Regions from separate parts of the Homo sapiens genome. Here region 1 is linked to region 2. Evidence: promoter capture Hi-C in human tissues and cell types (Jung and others, 2019). All regions are on one chromosome and are shown on one strand. The core of a region is centred on a gene start or on the middle of the fragment in contact, and the rest is flanking DNA. Distances in the headings are between cores, read along the strand shown.

Region 1 (5,440 bases), core at 2,715-5,214, 310 kb before region 2:
TTGCACTGTGAGAAAACTGGAAGAACAAAGAATGTTTCTGGTGTAATGGGCATGTGTCTTAGTCATGGTAATTAAGACTTAGTATTACAAAGCCATTTGTCATTTAAAAGGCTCATTCTTGATCATTTTATTTGCTAATGTATTCTCATTATGAGACATGGAGGATGGAATGCTGCCTTAACTCAGCAGTTATCTTTGGTTATTGATTTTTTTCTGTAAAAATCAGAAAGACTTTCTTTTAGCTTGATTCAATTAAGACACCAAATAATATGGTTTTGAATTGCTTCAAAGGAAAAAAGCAGATGTAAAATCAGTGAATCATGTGAGCCATTGATATCAATTAGCTAAACCATGCCGAGGTGATCCCTGTTAGCAGTTAAGTTCTTCCTTTCCCCAGGACTACAATGCTCTGCAGAAAGGTGCCCTTAGGTTTAAAAGTGACACTGGTTGACATACTCAGAAAGCCTTCTGTTCAAATTCTACCTCTTGAAGAGCCTTTCCAATTGTGAGATCATTTGGACAATTTTGGACCATGCAGGATTCAAACATGAATGTCATATTAAGCTCAAGAATATATTTATGATTCCATACTTTCACCTACCTTGGAGTGATTTCTGTTGCACTCACTGAAATATCAGAGTAAGCTCAATATCAGATATTGATATAATATCAATACATAATATCAATATCAAGCTAAATATCAAAGTTAACTAACCACCATTAATCACCCAAAGCATAGATCAAATGCAAACCCATTATAGAAAAAAGAGAATGAGGAACAGTGTGTGTCCTTTTGGTCAGGAGTGTGCTAACACAGGAATAGATAGGATCCTAAAATGCAACAATCAATGGCAAGTGGTCTTTTTAATTTAGTGGGCAACCAGAGGTGACATGATTTGATGCCTTTCTGTCAGATGAAAAGAGCAAGAGTTTCTCTATGTTTTTTCATTTAAAAAATATTATGTCATAGATTTGAGGCTTACCTGTATTCAGCAAGAAGTAGAGGAGAAATTCCATGTGTATGTTAAAAATATAGCTGCAAAATTCTGCAATAAATATCTCTTCTATCATCCTTTTCAGGTCAAATATTATGATCCTTTGTGACAGCAAGATTTCAGGAAAGAGAATAAAATGTCAGAGAATGTAAATCTTTTATGATGACTGTGATGGTTAATTTTATGTGTCAACTTCAGTGGGCCATAGGATGCCTGGATATTTAGTTAAACACTATTCTGGGTGTATCTGTGAAGGTGTTTGCATGAGATTAATCGGTAGACTGAGTATAGCAGAGTATACTCCCTAATGAGGGAAGACCTTATCCCATCAACTGAAGGCCTGCATAGAAGAAAAGGCTGACCCGCCCCCAATAAGAGAGCATTCTTTCTGCCTGACTGCCTTAAACTGGGATGTAAGCTTTTTCCTGCTTTCAGAGTTGAACTGAAAAATCAGCTCTTCCTGGGTGTCTAGCCTGCCAGCCTTAACACTGAAATTGTATCATTAGCTCTCCTAGGTCTCCAGCTTCCTGAGTCACCCTGCAGACCTTGGGACTTAGCCTCCATAATTTCATGAGCTGCTCCTCATAATAAATTCCTTACATATATGCACACACATCCTATTGGTTCTGTTCTCTGAAGAACCCTGACTAATACAATGCTTGAGGGGATTTTTCTCAAGCATGAATAACTTTTGTTTCTCTTTCCTTCTTTTCTTCCTTTCTCCAAGCAGAATACAGATATTTACAGTTATCCCAAATACATTCATTGAATAGGTGACTGGATTTCTGATGACTACTTTATTTTTTATTACATTTCTGTATGCACTTGGGCATATCTGGGTTTTCTGTTCTAGCTCGTTAACCTGCCTACTCTCATGCCCATACCAATCTCTCTCCTTTTTAGTAATTTTTTAAAATTATAGTACCACTCTCTTTTAATTATTGGGATTTCATGAGTTTTAACATATGGTGTGTCCCCTACCCTTAACCTTTATTGCTATTTTTTGTCAGCTTTCTACTGGATGTTCTTTTGGAAAAAAAAATTCATTTTTAAATTGAGGTAAAATTTATGTATAGTGAATTACATAGCTCTTAAATGTAGTTCAATGAGTCTTGCCAATTTTCCATGCCCATTTCTACATACAATGTTGTATTTTGTTTTATTTGTTCTGTTTTGAGAAGTGATGTATTTATGATGTTAAATATTCCTATACAAGTATAAGGTACATTGTTTTCCATGCGATCAAGTGTTTTTTCTGTGTTATTGTATGGAAGGTCACCAGCTGAGCATCCGTACTGTGTGAGGACACAAAATAAACTCTATTAAGTTAAGCACCTTAAGTTTGGAGGTTGTTTGTTACAGCAGTTAGCCCATACCAACCAATACAACTAGATTTAACACCAGGCTTGGTTTGTACTTTGCTGTTTTATCATGGTTGTGTTATATTTGTTGACAAGTTCCTGGTATAGTGAGTGCTCTTAATATTCAAATGTACAATTTGTTAGTGTAAGTGAATTACTACAAAGCGCCACTAGGTGTCCTCTAGCAATAATTTTCCCTGGCCTGCTGAAAGACTGACTGAAGCTTTATTTTTTCCCTTGGCTGTACTGCTGAATTGGTCCCCAGGACTCCACCCTCCTGCCATCACTGCTAACATACCAGAAAAATGAGAACCTTTTGTTGTTTTTAAGAACGTAGTTAAGTATATCATTCTTCTTAAGAACAAAAGTGTAGACTTTATCATGTTATAAAGAACCCACTATCAGAGACACATTTGTGATTTTTCTGAAAGTTGCTCAAGAACAGATTTGGAAGAGACAATTTATACTGTATACCTCTCCCATTTCTCTCCTATCTATTCTTTAGCATTCTAACACAGCAGAAAAATGGTCAAACAACATCAAGGCCAGCCAGTCCTGGAGGAGAGCAGTAATTGCGATAATTATTATGTTGGTGCAAAAGTAATCGCGGTTTCTGCCATTAAAAGTAATGGCACCAACCTAATACAAAGAGGTGGCATCTTAGAAAAGGCAGTGGGCAGGCCGGGCATGGTGGCTCATGCCTGTAATCCCAGCACTTTGGGAGGCCAAGGAGGGCGGATCACCTGAGGTCGGGAGTTCAAGACCAGCCCGACCAACATGGTGAAACCCCATCTCTACTAAAAATACAAAATTAGCCGGCTGTGGTGGCGCATGCCTGTAATCCCAGCTACTCGGGAGGCTGAGGCAGGAGAATCGCTTGAACCCGGGAGGTGGAGGTTGTGGTGAGCCGAGATCAGGCCATTGCACTCCAGCCTGGGTGACAAGAGCGAAACTCTGTCTCAACAAAAAACAAAGCAAAACAAAACAAACAAACAAAAAAAACAGAAATGGCAGTGGGCACTGAGAGAGAGGGATGAGCTTGAAAGGTATAGAAGAGATAAAATATACAAGACGTGACAACCATTAGGTGTTGTAAGTATGAAAGAGAAAGAAGTCCGGAAAATCTCCAGCATTCCCGGATCAAGGCAACAGGGGCATGGTGGTTCTTCTGACTGAGATAAGAAAAACTGAAGAAGGAAAAGGCTTGTGGTACAAGGCAGAAAGGAATATGTTTACATTTTTTAACATGTTAGTTTTGATGTGTCTGGGGGACATCCAAGTGAACATCTCAAATTGACTGAAAGAATTCTGAAGATTTTTGGTTAAAGAAAGGGAAGTAGAAGATGTTTTACTCTTCTCCACTCCCTCAAACTCCACCAAAAGCAAACAAAAAAAGTAGAGGAAAAATAATCTATCTTCAGTGAGACCTGGAACAGGACACAACCACAAGCCACAAACTAGGAGGCATATCTGCCAAGCACTGGGAAGTCTAGACGAAGATGAGAGAAGAGAGACTCCTAAGAGCTAGACCAAGACAACTAGTTTCCCAAGAAGTTTATGTCACCAGTAGCCTAAAAATTCCTTTGATTAGAGTGTTGAGCTCTTTGGGTATAAAGAGGCTTTGAGAATGGTGAGAGGGGGGTGTCCTTAGGGAGACCCAGGATAATGACTCGGAATGCAGGAAAAATGCAGTAGAAAGTCAAATCATGCTGTGAGAAGTAGGGGAAGAGTAGGTGAGGAGTGTGTGTGTGTGTGTGTGTGTGTGTGAGAGAGAGAGAGAGAGAGAGAGAGAAAGAAGAGATTCACAATGTGGTGTTCTAGCTAAGGGAGACCTCTGGAGGTGAAGTGGGGTGAAAGAGGGAGGGGAAACGGTTATAGTCAAACTGCAACACAGAGCTGATGATTTAAATACTTTGCTGTCATCCTCAACCATTCCTAACTACAATATGTATGTATGTATGTATGTATGTACATGTGTATGTATGTATTAGCATGTTTCTGGCATCCATTTGAGGATGAGTAATAACTATAAAAAAAAAAAACCAGCCAGGCACTGTGGCTCATGCCTGTAATCCCAGCACTTTGGGAGCCCAAGGCAGGCGGCTCACTTGAGATCAAGAGTTCAAGACCAGCCTGGCTAACATGGTGAAGCCCCGTCTCCACTAACAATACAAAAAAATTAGCTGAGTGTGGCAGCGCGTGCCTGTAATCCCAGCTACATGGGTAGCTGAGGCAGGAGAATCACTTGAACCTGGGAGGCAGAGGTTGCAGTGAGCCGAGATTGTGCCACTGCACTCCAGCCTAGGTGATAGAATGAGACTCCGTCTCAAAAAAAAAAGAAGGAAAGAAAGAAAGAAAGAAAAGAAAGAAAGAAAGAAAGAAAGAAAGAAAGAAAGAAAGAAAGAAAGAAAGAAAGAAAGAAAGAGGGAAAGAAAGAAAGAAAAAGAAAGAAACCAGCATGGGACTAATACATAAAAGCTGTGCCGAAAAAAAGGAAAACAAAACATATATGCAAAAGGCAGATAAAAAAACATACTTCACCCAAAGGAAAGAGAGGAATTACCCAGAATATAGATAAAGAGTAGTTCTCTGCATGATAAGGAAATCTTGTGATCTCAATTTAGAAGAGACAACATGAATGGGATAAAATTTGTCATAGATAATTGCTGTTCTGGGCTGCTGCTTCTCTTAGTAATAGTAACAGAATTTATTGTCTGCCCTCACACAACCAAATCCTTTCAAAGAAAATTATTCTACCTTAATATCTATGGGTCATGTTTCATTCATAGTGATTAGTTCAGGGATGGACTTGTGACCTGAATTGATCAATGCATAAGGAAGCTGTTATTTCTGTGCAACATTTAGATTAGAAAAAAAAATTTACTCTTTTATTTCCATGTGAATGAGAAATTTGGGAAGCTGCTGATAACAATTTTACTACCATCAGGGGAACTTCTGCCCAAAACAGAACCAACACCAAAGGAGCTCATTCAAAAAGGAGAGAGAGAGAGAAAAAAAAAAAAAGTCCTGAACTCATAGTTTTCACCCTGGCTAAACTCATTCCCTATTCTCTTCAAGATCCAA
Region 2 (5,762 bases), core at 2,242-4,741:
CACAAAGGTTCTCCACATCCCCACCAGATTAGCTAGATACAGAGTGTCCACACAAAGGTTCTCCAAGGCCCCACCAGAGTAGCTAGATGCAGAGTGTCGATTGGTGCATTCGCAAACTCTGAGCTAGACACGGTGCTGATTGGTGTGTTTACAAACCTTGAGCTAGATACAGAGTGCCGATTGGTGTATTTACAATCCCTGAGCTAGACATGAAGGTTCTCCAAGGCCCACCAGAGTAGCTAGATACAGAGTGTCGATTGGTGCATTCACAGACCCTGAGCTAGACACAGGGTGCTGACTGGTGTATTTACAATCCCTGAGCAAGACATAAAGGTTCTCCACATCTCCACCAGACTCAGGAGCCCAGCTGGCTTCACCCAATGGATCCCGCACCTGGGCTGCAGGTGGAGCTGCCTGCCAGTCCCACACGGTGCGCCGGCACTCCTCAGCCCTTGGGTGGTCGATGGGACTGGGCGCCGTGGAGCAGGGGGCCGCGCTAATCTGGGAGGCTCGGGCCGCACAGGAGCCCACGGAGGGGGTGGGAGGCTCAGGCATGGCGGGCTGCTGGTCCCGAGCCCTGCCCCGCGGGAGGGCGGCTAAGGCCCGGCGAGAAATCAGCACAGCACCGGTGGGCTGGCACTGCTGGGGGACCCAGTACACCCTCCGCAACCACTGGCCCGGGTGCTAAGCCCCTCACTGCCCGGGGCCGGCAGGGCCGGCCGGCTGCTCCAAGTGTGGGGCCTGCCAAGCCCATGCCCACCGGGAACTCCAGCTGGCCCGCAAGCGCCGCGCGCAGCCTCGGTTCCCGCTGGGGCCTCTCCCTCCACACGTCCCTGCAAGCTGAGGGAGCCGGCTCTGGCCTTGGCCAGCCCAGAAAGGGGCTCCCACAGTGCAGCGGTGGGCTGAAGGGCTCCTCAAGTGCCGCCAGAGTGGGAGCCCAGGCAGAGGAGGCGCCAAGAGCGAGCGAGGGCTGTGAGGACTGCCGGCACGCTGTCACCTCTCAATAGGTTTCAGACTGAGATTAATAATTGTTCCATAACAACCTGTATTTAGTAAAGATGATCAAAAGGTGCTTTTGTGCCATTTTTTTCTTTCTCTAGTTTGAGTAAAAGTTTCAGCAAGTGAGCAGCAAAATTTAGATAAACTAATAAATGAATAATTTTTACAATGGAATGCCCATAAGCACCTCAAAGTCAGCACATCCAAAATGGATTTTTTTTTGTCTTTTTTTTGAGACAGAGTCTAACTCAGTTGCTCAGGCTGGAGTGCAGTGGCGCGATCTCGGCTCACTGCAACCTCCACCTCAAGCAATTCTGGTGCCTCAGCCTCCTGAGTAGCTGGGACTACTGGCATGAGCCGCCATGCCTGGTTAATTGTGTGTGTGTGTGTGTGTGTGTGTGTGTGTGTGTGTGTGTGTGTGTATTTTCAGTAGAGATGGGGTTTCATCATGTTGCCCAGGCTGGTCTGGAACTCCTGCCCTCAAGTGATCTGTCCCCACCATGGCCTCCTTAAGTCCTGGGATTACAGGTGTAAGCCACCGTGCCCAGTACCCAAGTGGATTTCATAATTTATCTCCAAATCTATTTCTTCTCCTCTGTGCCTAGAAAAGTCAATGGCACCATTAACCTCAAACTTAACCAGGTTAGAATTTTTGTGTCTCCTCCACCTTTTCTCTAGCTGCCAATCCCAGTGACCCATCAGTTTTATTCATGAGGCTATTCCCGATCTCATGCTATACACCAGGCCTTCATTATCACTTGCTTCAACCACAGGTGATCCTCAGTGATATAGTCTGATTTTAAATTTACATTTTCAAACATTGTAGTTTACTCTTTCAAATCATTTTTTTTTTCATATGCCAAGTTGGGACTTGAAAGTCTTTTTTTTTTGACAGAGTCTCACTCTGTCCCCCAGGCTGGAGTGCAGTGACACAATCTCGGCTCACTGCAACCTTCACCTTCACCTCCTGGGTTCAAGCGATTCTCCCGCCTCAGCCTCCCAAGTAGCTGGGAGTACAGGCACCCACCACCCCATCAGGCTAATTTTTGTACTTTTAGTAGAGGCGGGGTTTCACCGTATTGATCAGGCTGGTTTCGAACTCCTGACCTCAAATAATCCACCCACCTTGGCCTCCCAAATGCTGGGATTATAGGAGTGAGCCATGGCGCCTGACCTTAAAAGTCTTATATCACTTTTTCACATGACAAGTTTAGATTTCATAATCAGCTGATGAATAAATACTTTCAGTCCATGCACAGTCTGTGCCATCTGATACCTCTGTTTCAGCAAGGTAATCACTTCTATCTATAAAGCATTGTTTGTGCAATATTTTAATAGGATTAATAGGCTCAAATGAACCACAGATCTGTCAACTGAACTTGCAGTCTGGCCACTCTTGTAACAAATATTCATTTCATTAAGCACCTTTAATATGACAAATGATGTGCTAAGTACCAAGTACTTTGTCATAGTGACAAAGCAGACACTCTTACCCTCATGGAATTTGTACTATATATTGTGGGTAAAAAGGGATCCAATAAATAAACTCCCCAAAAATATATGGCTGGTGTTATTTATCTTGATAGGTGTTAGTACATAGTCTTAATAATTATCAATAATATATTACTATATGTATTTAACATATTGTACCGTAGGCCCAATATCTTTCAGTGCAAAAATACTCAGCTGAAATACGTTTTTCATTTCAAATACTTATCTATATTGATTACAACATTCTAATTTAGTGTTTTACTTTCCATTTCCAAATATTCTTTCATCAATATTATCTGTTCTTCTTTTCATCATAAATGTATTTATTTCATCTATTAGTATTTTCTATAATCTATATTTTAAGTCATTTCAGCTCTTTTTATATTTCTTAAACCTTTTAAAAGCATAATTGTATGCTAAAAGTGGGTGAGGTTTTAAAACTAAGTGCCTAAGACATAATATAAATATTTTATTGTTCTCTATTACATTAAAAAGTGGTAACCTATTTAATTCACATGCTATGGTCAAATTTTAATTTCAATAATATGACACAAATAAATACTCAGAAATGCTGACAAATCTTATCACCTGTGAAACTCAAATGTTTTCAGGGGTCATGAAGATAGCATACTTGTCTCATCCAATGACTTTCAAATTCATCCTTCTTTAAAATGTTGTGCTGGACTTTGGAGACACAAATGTGGCCTTCCAGAGTGACAGGCCTTATAACAATCCTTGTAACAATTACTACTTTATTTTTACCTGTTAATATTTATATATTAATAAACCCAACTGAACCTAAGAGAATATCTAAGACAAGTACATTTGTGTATGTGTGTGCCTTCATGTATGTGATTTTTATGTACATGATGAACTGTCTTAATTATAAAGAAAAGGAAAAAAACATGATGCTATGAGAAAAAAATGAACATTCAACTGAGCAGAGCAGAAGATATTTTTATATTTCCTGATACAAAAATCTAACTTCAGTTCCGGTCTGGCAGAGAGCGCGGAGAGACGCAGAACGCAGCCAGCTCCTCCAGGGCCCTCCAGGCCCTCCGGACCCGGGCCGGCGGGTGAACTGGGGGGCCCCGGGACAGGCCGAGGCCTCTGCCCTGCAGATACCGGAGGCCTCTGCTGTGGCTGCCCACTGGCTGTGCCCAGGCCTTGAAGCCGCAGCGAACCTCTCTTTCCCACCCCACCTGGATGACTGATGGCGGCGGCTGCGTCTCCCCGACGGGACCCCGCCGGCCGCCGCGTCTCCCGACCCAAGCCTGCCGGGCCTCGACGAAACCCCCGCAGAGTCGCTGGGACGCAGCGCCTTTGGGCGGCGCCGGGCGTGGTGGGCCGGAAAGTATGGCGGCCGCTTGAACGCCGCGCGGCGGAGGCCATTAAGGCGTGGAGGGCCCGGGAAGGCGGCCTAGGGACGCAAGCAGGCTCGGCCACCTCTTTAGGCCACGGAGCCGCGCAGATCCGGTTCCCGGGTGACCACTCTGTCGCCATTGGGCGAGACCGACCTAGTCCTGACGACAACGGACAAAGGCCTTCAGGGGCCTGGAAGGTGAGTGAAGTCCCGAAAGACGACGGGTGGAACGGTTAGCGGCTATCGGGCGGTTGGTCTTTGTTCTACCAGACTTTGCTGTCAGAAGAGAGAAATGGTAGAATGACAGGCCACGTTTGGCCCGTTGGAAATGCCCACCACCCTCTGGGAAGATTTACTGGCCGTTTATGTAAGGCCTGTGTATATAATATGAAAAAGCTGCTCTCAACTTCACCCCAACCTTTTAATAGAAAACATTTGTCACATCTAGCCCTTCTAGATGGAAAGAGGTTGCCGACATATGATAAAATAGAAAGTCACACATCTTGTAAATTCTCATTTGTTTAAAAGAAATCATAGAAAACACATGTCTTCTGGAGATGACTTTTAGAAATGGAGTTGTTAAGACGGCCTCTGGAAGCGATACGTCCACGTTTGTTAAGTGGGTTAGATGACATGGAGGTGGAAGACCTGAGAAGGAAGAGAAGAAGGTTCTGTGCTAGACTGGTCATATTTAGAAGACATTTTCATATTCTATCCATTGTTTTGTGTGCATTTTATTCTTCACTACTGTGTATATAGTTGACAATGCTAAGCTTTTTTGAAATGTCTATTCTTTTTAGATGTTCTGAAGTGCCTGATATGTTAAAATTAGAGGTAGCAAAATCACATTTTGTAAATACCTTTTTGTTACAAATCATAGGAAATGTTTTTTGGGGGGAATGGCCAAATCACCTGTTGAGTAATGCTCATTGTGCAGTGTGGTTCAGGGGAAGAGAGAGGAGGGGGAGGTGCAGAGAGCTCTATGACATCCTGTTTACAGCGAGGCAAGATGAATCATTATCTCTGTGCGTTTTGTTTTACTTATCTGTGTATATAGTGTACATAAAGGACAGACGAATCCTAATTGACAACATCTAGTCTTTCTGGATGTTAAAGAGGTTGCCAGTGTATGACAAAAGTAGAGTTAGTAAACTAATATATTTTGTACATTTTGTTTTACAAGTCCTAGGAAAGATTGTCTTCTGAAAATTTGATGTATTCTGGGTTGATGGAAATGGGAAGGGTTCTAGGCCAGAATGTTCACATTTGGAAGACTCTTTCAAATTATAACTGTTTTTACATGTTTGCAGTTTATTCAAGACTGCTGTATACATAGTAGACAAATTAACTCCTTACTTGAAACATCTAGTCTATCTAGATGTTTAGAAGTGCCCAATGTATGTTAAATGTAGAGGTAGTAAAATACCACTTTGTAAATATCTTTTTGCTAAAATTCATAGGAAATACTTCTGGAAATTGAATTGTGAAGCCACCTTTGTGAGCAGTATAGTAATGTCTATACTTGTTCAATGGTTTAGAGGAAGTGGGAGGGAAGAAATTGCAAAAGGTAATATACTAGTGTGTTCATACTTGGACGTTTTCAGACACCATTTTTCTATATGTTTTGTGCATTTTGTTTTGCTCTGTATATAGTGTATATAATGGACAAATAGTCCTAATTTTTCAACATCTAGTCTCTAGATGTTAAAGAGGTTGCCAGTGTATGACAATGTAGTAAAATTAGCATATTTTGTACTCTTTGTGTTGAAATTCATACGAAAACTTGTCTTCTGTAAATGACTTTTGCATAGGAATTTGGTCAACCATCTCTAAGCATTACATGTGCCTGTACTTGTCCACTGGATTGAAGGCAGAGAAGGAAGGGAGGGGGGAATGATTCAAGGCCAAA

Evidence for each region. The method cuts DNA at HindIII sites, captures the fragments that hold promoters and counts their contacts. A contact is called where the count stands out against the background at its distance.
Region 1: a fragment that was not itself captured here is called in contact with the fragment with the promoter of OVCH1-AS1 in region 2 in 1 of the 25 tissues and cell types used here (small bowel).

What each region holds. Positions count from the first base shown.
Region 1 is chr12:29,071,296-29,076,735 of GRCh38, forward strand. No RefSeq gene overlaps it. Among named protein-coding and RNA genes, the nearest start is that of FAR2, 75 kb to the right of the region's middle. The HindIII fragment of the contact is 3,937 bases long and covers 1,997-5,440 here.
Region 2 is chr12:29,385,803-29,391,564 of GRCh38, forward strand. OVCH1-AS1 (OVCH1 antisense RNA 1) reads left to right here and starts at 3,492. Exons shown (of 2, transcript NR_073172.1): 1 at 3,492-4,051. The HindIII fragment of the contact is 7,391 bases long and covers 1-5,762 here.